Linked DNA regions of Homo sapiens: regions 1 and 2 are each linked to region 3. The links are contacts of gene promoters, found by promoter capture Hi-C in blood cells and fetal thymus (Javierre and others, 2016). All regions are on one chromosome and are shown on one strand. Each heading gives the region's core, a stretch centred on a gene start or on the middle of the fragment in contact. The rest is flanking DNA. Distances are from core to core; before and after follow the strand shown.

Evidence for each region. The method cuts DNA at HindIII sites, captures the fragments that hold promoters and counts their contacts. A CHiCAGO score of 5 or more calls a contact.
Region 1: a contact is called between a fragment that was not itself captured here and the fragment with the promoter of GAP43 in region 3, in 1 of 17 cell types (total B cells). The highest score is 5.5, in total B cells.
Region 2: a contact is called between a fragment that was not itself captured here and the fragment with the promoter of GAP43 in region 3, in 1 of 17 cell types (total B cells). The highest score is 6.3, in total B cells.

The regions. Positions count from the first base shown.
Region 1 is chr3:115,050,444-115,053,143 of GRCh38, reverse strand. The region is part of intron 2 of ZBTB20 (zinc finger and BTB domain containing 20); the gene reads left to right. Among named protein-coding and RNA genes, the nearest start is that of ZBTB20-AS4, 49 kb to the left of the region's middle. The HindIII fragment of the contact is 1,533 bases long and covers 526-2,058 here.
Region 2 is chr3:115,092,534-115,095,239 of GRCh38, reverse strand. All of the region lies in intron 1 of ZBTB20 (zinc finger and BTB domain containing 20), which reads left to right. Among named protein-coding and RNA genes, the nearest start is that of ZBTB20-AS4, 6.5 kb to the left of the region's middle. The HindIII fragment of the contact is 314 bases long and covers 1,254-1,567 here.
Region 3 is chr3:115,622,214-115,624,913 of GRCh38, reverse strand. GAP43 (growth associated protein 43) reads right to left here and starts at 1,404. Exons shown (of 3, transcript NM_002045.4): 1 at 1,195-1,404. The coding sequence starts at 1,224. The HindIII fragment of the contact is 1,952 bases long and covers 123-2,074 here.

The DNA of each region.
Region 1 (2,700 bases), core at 43-2,542, 570 kb after region 3:
AGGCTTTGTTTTGTACTTCTTTATCTGTGGTTAACAATATTTAGTTCAGGGGGAATTACTGTTCTTGAAAGGGGAGCTAAAATGGCTAAACCACAACAGAGAGAGTTATAGGCAGTGATGTCAGCATTCAGATTAGCCTTTACTGTGGACTTTACTGAAGAGTACAAAAAACTGAATGACCAGAGAGTTTGATTAGCTATAAACGTTTTTTGAAATTAATTAAAAATTCAATTAAAGAATGAAAATTATTATTACTAAAAACAATTCAAACATGAAAATTTTTACAGTGCTCATTTTGCAGTGATGGGATTCTGAATAATTTTATCTTCTGAAATTTCTAGCTTTTTGCATTTTCTGAGTCTCCTATAATAGCATTTACAGTTTATAGTGAAAATTAGATATACCTCAAACATTATAACAAAACTCTCAGTAATTTAAATTTATGATTTCTTAAATTAGCTCACTTTTGTGTCTGTGTGTGTGTTTGTAGGATAATCAGTGATAGGAATGAAAACTTGACAAGCTTCTTCCTGAACAAGATATTTGTCTTTTAGTTAAACTTTGCAGGAGGAAAGATGACGAATTTCCATTTATTAGTGCAATATAATTATAATCTCATCTCTTTAACTCTGTATTTCTTTAGTATACAAGATAGTACTGTGGTCTAGTCACTTTTTTTTTTTCCATGAGAAAGCGTCTCACTCCATTACCTAGGTTGGAGTGCACCGGTGCAATTTTGGCTCACTGCAACCTCCAACTACCTGGTTCTAGCGATTCTCCTGCCTCAGCCTCCCGAGTAGCTGGGATTACAGGCATGCACCACCATGCCCAGCTAATTTTTGTATTTTTAGTAGAGACAGGGTTTCACCATGTTGTCCAGGATTGTCTGGATCTCCTGACCTTGTGATCTGCCCGCCTCCACCTCCTAAAGTGCTGGGATTACAGGCATGAGCCACCATGCCTAACCACACTTTTATCTTTAGAAAGTTTTATTATATCATTAAATTGTGGCTAAAGTCTCATCAATTAGGATTTCACTGATATGGTTGGGCTCTGTGTCCCCACCCAAATCTCATGTTGTATTTTAATCCCCAATGTTGGGGGAGGGACTTGATGGGAGGTGATCAGATCATGGGTGCAAATTTCCCGCTTGCTGTTCTCATGATAGTGAGTGAGTTCTCACCGAGATCTGGTTGGTTAAAAGTGTGTAGCACTTCCCTCTTCATTTTCTCTCTCCTGCTCCTCCATAGTAAGCCATGCTTGCTTCCCCTTCACCTTTAAGTTTTCTGAGGCCCCCCAGGCATGCTTCCTGTACAGCCTGTGGAACTATTAAGTCAATTAATCCTCTTTTCTTCATAAACTACCCAATCAGAGGTAGTTCTTTAGAGCAGTGTGAAACTGGATGAAGACAGAAAATATAATTCTAAATTTATGATAATTGGAAAAAGAACTTGCTGAAATTTGTCTTACAAAACACGGGTTTGTCAAACACAAAGATCCTATGGCCAGCATTTCTAGAATGATTTCTCGCCAATTTAGGAAAACAAACTATTTTGAAGGTATTACTGTAACAACGTTAATTCCTGTCCCAACAATTTACTAATCAACAGCTCTTACTACCTATGAATACCTATGTATTCATTTAAAAAAGAACCTCTTAATATTAATCCTGGTCCCTATTAGCTTTAATTTGCTAGTCTCTAAACTCCTACCCATCTATCATATCAGCTTAAACATCACTTTCTCAGTGAAATCTTCTTAAGCATGTCAATTTTTTTTCCTCAGATGCTATCATGGAATCTCATTTTTCTCTCCAAAATCTATTTATAGTTATATAATAATTTTATGATTATTGATTAATGTCTGGTTCCCACAAGGCATTAGTAATATGAAAACGGAATTGTGTCTGCTTTTTTCTTCTCATTGTCACCATAGGAACTAACATACTACCCAAAATATAGTAGGACTTTAATAGTCATTTAATTATTACCTAAATGTCTGAATGAATTATTGAATGAATGTACCTAGCAAAAAAATTTAGCCAAGATACCTTAAGCTTTAAGTTTTAGTATTATAAAATTTCCGTTAAATCATTAATAATTTAAATAACAGCGTTTTGGAATTTCTGAGTATAGGAATTGAAGCTTATACCTGAAATTGAAGATTGTGCTAAAAAATGATAGATCATTATTTTAAAAACAATAGTTTGTAATTTTGTCCTCCTATGATTTTGGATTGACTTTGTTTTTCTATTGTTTCTAATAGAGTTGTAGAGTACCTTTCATCTTATTACCATCCTTTTATTATTACCCTTTTCTGTAGGGAAAACTACACAGTGATATTTTAACCATATGTCCATATCAGAGGACATATTGATCATAGCCTTTAATCAGAACTGTCATCTGCACATAAAAGTTTCGGTGAAAAGTTACCTAAGTTTACATGCCAGTTATGCCTGTATGCGTGAGATGGTATGTGACTGAATATTTATGGTAGGGATTATAGAAAGTGAAATAAAAGTTAATAAATCATTGAGAGATTCAGAGGACCCCTAGGAATGCATACATTCTTTAAAGTATCATAATTTATAAAATGTATTAAAATTATTTTTATATAAACAAACATAAAGGTGTTTGATAATATAATTCTAGTTTTGATTTCTAAGATGAAGAGAGCTTAATTCATTCACTTAATCATGTA
Region 2 (2,706 bases), core at 161-2,660, 530 kb after region 3:
GTTCATTGATTCATCTAGTTTCCAGAGGGAAGAAGAACATATTTTTTATTAATTCTGAATATTCAGTCTTACCTTTGAAACTCTGATAGAAAATGTGGTAATTACAGCATAATATGTTTACCTTCTTGATATTGGAAGTAATTTTGTCACTGAATACTTCTGTGTCTTGAGATATGATGAATTTAATGTTCATATTATGCATTTAAAAGGTCAATCTATTTGAAAGTTTTTATATTACATTACTAATGTAAGGATTTACATTCAACAAATATAAAATTATGGTATGAGGTTGGGGTTATGGGATATCAAAAAGATAGATGCCCAATTGGTTGTAACTAAAAATGTAGAAATGGTAATAATTACGAATCTTATACATAGTAGTACTATTTTTGTTATTGGGAAAATTCTTAATTTAAACTTTTTAAAATGAAACATTTAAAATTATTTAAATTTTAATTTTCTCTAATTTTTAGAAGGCTTTACATTTTTGTTTTTTACTGAATTAGCTTAGATATTTGCCATTTTTACCTTTTCAAAAATTTTCTGTGAATTACTGTTGTAATTAAATTGTGATTTGTTGTTGCAATTCCTTTTATAGTATGAACTTCTTTCCTGTAAATGGAATGTAATTGAGAGAAAATTAATGTTGTCAGTTTGTTCAGGTAGCAACTTAAAACTTAGTTAAAAAAAAAAAAAAGCTATTACTAGCAGAAAACTAGAAATGTTCCAGGCTATGTAATTTTTCTAGTTGATATATATGTGTATGTGAAAACTATGTGGCTTCATTTTAAATAAACAAAAATATCTTATTTAGGCACCAAGACATTTAAACAGTGAGAAAATGTTCCTCTCTTTTATTATTTAAATAGACTAGGCAAATACTTTGTAATGGTGACTTTATAAATTTTTTGTTTTTTTTTCTTCTTAAATACTGGACACATTAAAATTCTTCTTGGCCCAATAAATATACTCTGGTTCTGACCATATTTACTAATTTCTCCACTTCTTGGTTACTTGTACCTATTACCTTAGCTTTAGGTAAGGCAAAAATAACTTACTTTTTATATTAGCCCTTACTTTCTCTAGTTCTCCAAATCAACAGTGATCTTTATCCCCTCACCTCATTTCTAGAAGGGAGACGACTAGAGATGATTAAGAAACAAGTAGAGAGAAGTTGAGATAATGTGAAGGGATAAAGCTGAGGGTACAGGGGTAAAGCTGAGGGTAGCTGAGGGGTTGGTGCTTTTGAAGCTTCTAAACTTAGAAGTATAATGAAATAAAAAGACTTCTTCCCTAACTCCCGTTAAAAAGCATTTGACTTATCTGTACAGCATTAGTTTTTGCATCTCTCTAAAGCAGATCTATATAAATTCCCTCTGCACTCCAAGACAGATTCCAGTGGTACCACCAAAGAAGATCATAGAAGAAAAAGTCAAAACATCTCACATTTCTAGAACATCCACTGCCAGGTTTCCTTCATACCTTTTGCCCTTTAATTCTTGGGTTCGGAGTTGTGAGCAGATTTTTATAGTTGGTGGACAGATTTCATTTGTTTTGATAAGAAGCTTTACCAACAACACATTCCCAAAACATGCCCCCAAACAGCATCACATGCTGAATTAAAATAGATGAAGTGATTAGCTGGATAAGTGTGCGTGTGTTTCCTTTTTAAAAACAAAGTCAAATAATTTGTATGAAACAAAACAAAAAGAACTTTTCTAGCAGTCTGAATGAATTCAGGTTGTTTCACATAATGGCTTTCTGAAACCATTTTTTGTATAGTAATTTTGACCAACACATCCACCTATTCCCTACCCCACTTGCTTTTTCGCTTTCTAAATGTTGGATGAATGTAATTCCTTAATATAAAAATAATTGTGTTCTTATAACACATTCAAAATATACCTATGGATATGAAGATGTGGTACGGCCTATACACAGTAGTTTCACTTATATCACCTTAGTCTGAAAATATATGAATAAAAAACATTTTTAGAAATTATTTTTCTGGTATGTTGAAAGAAACTTTATGGTGTGATACAAAAAGCATTTCCTGGGGAATCAGGAGGTATTAATCAATATCAAAAAGGATTTAAAGTGGTTAAATCTGGAGGTCTGGTTTTTTGTTCTGACTTTGTGACTTTGAGTACATCATGATCTCTCTGTCCCTCAGTTTCCTTCCTGTAAAATGAGGAGAAAGCTTTTTAAAATATTTTTTCATCTTAAAGACTGTGATTTTAAGTAGCTATATATGTAGATAATCTTGCTTGCATTTTCTATCTAAAAGTCACAAATAAATGGAGAAAAGTTAGGGTGGGTAATAAAGGAAGAATAACGGACATTTATGTGGCTTGAGAGAGCACAGGCACTTTAATTTTGTGATGATTTTTCTTAGCTTAACTACATATCATAATGTATTATTGAGTCTGTTTAATGATTGAACGAATGCCATAAACCAAAAATAGTCATTTGTCAGACAAACTGACTTAATTGCCTATGGGTGATTTGGTAAAAGGGCTGTTTTTAATGGAATGAAGTGCAGCATGGTTACTATGGCTCCACTCCTCTCCACTGGCCACTAGATGGAGAGGCGATCCGTGTCCACTGCCTTGCCAATAGCAAGCAGTTCACTTCTGACTTCCTAATGGCAAAGCTGCACTCTATGCCTTTGGACATTTCTATGAATACACACATGACATTTTGGAG
Region 3 (2,700 bases), core at 155-2,654:
ACCACACCCCCACCCCCACCACAGTCAAGCATACGCACACACTCACCCGTATCCCACACCCATTTTTCTCTTTAACCTTTGCCAAAATCACTCAAATGCATTCCAACAAATGTTTGAAAGCTTCTTTTGGAGACTGCCATGGCATGGTCGGTTGCTGCGGAATACCACACTCGTCATTCCTTCCCACTCTCACCCCAATCAAGTTTCTAAAATGTCTTTCAAGAAATAAGCGAGCAATTGGAAATGGCTGTAAAACCTGGGCAGTGGGGGAGGGAAGGAGGGGCTCTGATTCTTGCTAATCTTGGATGTGTCCCTCTTCCTGATGAAAATGAGTCACCATACTTATTATCCAGGATGTTAGCCTGTCTCTGGTCACTGACAATCCCAGGAAAGAAGCAAGGGAAGGGGATAAGAGAAAAGACCTGGTTTCCAACAGGTAATACCCGGCTGTCTTTCCCATCCCATCGGAGCTCCTAGGGGCGTGGTCCACCCTCTCCTCCGACCAGCTGGTGCACAATCGGCTGCTGATCTTAGGAAGGGGATTTTCTCCTTCTGCATGGCCAATTTCTCCCCCAGCCCCAGTTGTCTTAGCTTCTCTTAAAAAAAAAAAAAATCTATCAAATCACAGTTTCATTCATTCATTGAAAAATAAATACTAAATAAATAAGACCTGCACGTTTTTCCATAAATACCTGCGCCCCTTCGAAGCTCATGCATGCACGAAATAAGGCATCTTCCGCAGCACATGTGAGAAAATTGTATGACAGAGAGGCAATACTCAGTTCTGAATATTATTTCCTCAACCCTGCTTTTTTGCAAATAATATAAAGAAATGCCTCCCCATCTTGTAGGTAGAGCCCACATCATCTCCCCCACACCCCTTTCTACGTCCACACCCTCAAGACCAGAGACCTCAAATGCTGAGCATTCACTAATAAGAAAAAAAAAAATTATTTCTAGCCAAACAGGCATGTTTTTTCTACCCTCACCCTAATTAGTAGCAGCATTCCAAAACCAGAGCATGAAAGACAGAAAAGAATAAAAGCTGGGATGCAACCATCAGTTACCATATGCTAAGGAAGCGCGAGCACCACGGCCAGAGCAGAAGCAGTAAAAAAATTGTTTGCCTTTACGGGGAAATACTGTACTCGGGTTATTTCACAACAGCAAGAAGTAAAAAATCTTTAGCTCTACCTGTTTGGTTCTTCTCATACAGCACAGCATGGTTGTCTCGTCCCTTGCCTTCTTCCTGCCTTCTCTCCTTTCCTTCTCTCTCTTTCTTATTCCCCCCCTCTCCACCTCTTTTCTGCTCGCTTGCTCACTCGCTCTCTCGCGCTAGCGCGCTCTCTCTCCCTCCCTCCCTCTCTCTCCCTCACACACACCAGGGCAGTTAGCAGCAACTGTAAGGTCCACAGCTATTGCTCATCGCACATGCTCGCTCCCTCTCTCTAGCGCTCTCTCTCTCTCTCCCTCTCTCTCTGGTGCTCTCTCTCCGCTGTCCTCTCTTCCCTCTCTTCTCCTTTTTTCTCCTTCCCCCCAATATCTATCTATCTGTCTTTTTCTTCCCTCTCTCTCCGTCTCTTTCTCGGAATTGTTCTCTAGCCTTCAGTGACTAATCACTTCCCCCAGCCCCTACCCCCATTCTAGACAGTCGCCCCCTCCCAGTCCCCTGCCAGCCTCATGAATATTTAAACACCTCCAATCTGGACCCAATTACCCACCGACTTTTCCACTGCATTGAGAGGGTGATGGGGTGGGGGCAGAGAAGGATATTCCAGTCAATCCAGGAGATATGATAGAGCATGTTTTAGGGAAGAGGGGCTTGAGGAATCCTTGTATTTCTTTAAGAACTCTTTTCCTCTTTTCCTAGTATTATAAAAGCAAAGAACAGCTATTTCTAAAGAGGAATTGTAGTCAGTCCTATACAATATAAGTCATATCTGCCATTACATTTTATGCATAGTTAATAATTGTGGAGGTTAATTTCCCTCAAAAAATGAAATAACATGTAAATATCATACACTGTTTATATATTCTTCTCAGTATACATATAACCTGAAATAAATACAAAGCTTAGATATGCACAAGCATATTTTATATATGTTCCAATATCCTGGAAAAAAATCCACATAAATATATTGCATTTTAAACATTCTAAGCACTTGAGCTCAGAAATAATAAACAATGTTTAAGAATTGGCATCCATATCTAAAATCACATGGTAGTTTTTTGTTTTTTCCTTAATGCACATATACCTGTTTGTAAATTGTGGTTTCTTCTAATTTTACTGAAAAAGCTGAGCACATTCAAACAGGTCTGTGTAATATTGACGGTGATCAAAATGATATTTTACAATTTGGGCATGAGAGATTAAAGTGAATTCATCTGAGATGAGAAGAAACGATAAGTCATGAAGCCTACTTCTTGAATTCCTTCTATGGCCTTTCATAATTTTGGGGGAGGAACATGTGACTCTTAAAGTGTGTATAGCACAATTTTTAGTTATTTATTGTTGAATGAGTTTGAGTGTGTTACTGAAGCTCTTTGCACCTAATTTTCTCATCTTTAAAATGGAGATAATAATGCCAATCTTGACAACATGTTTTGAGGACTAAATGATATAACGCATGCAAAGCACAACAGTCTCTCTGAGTGTATAATAGCTTTACTCCAGAGACTGTACTTTTCTGAAATTCGGGT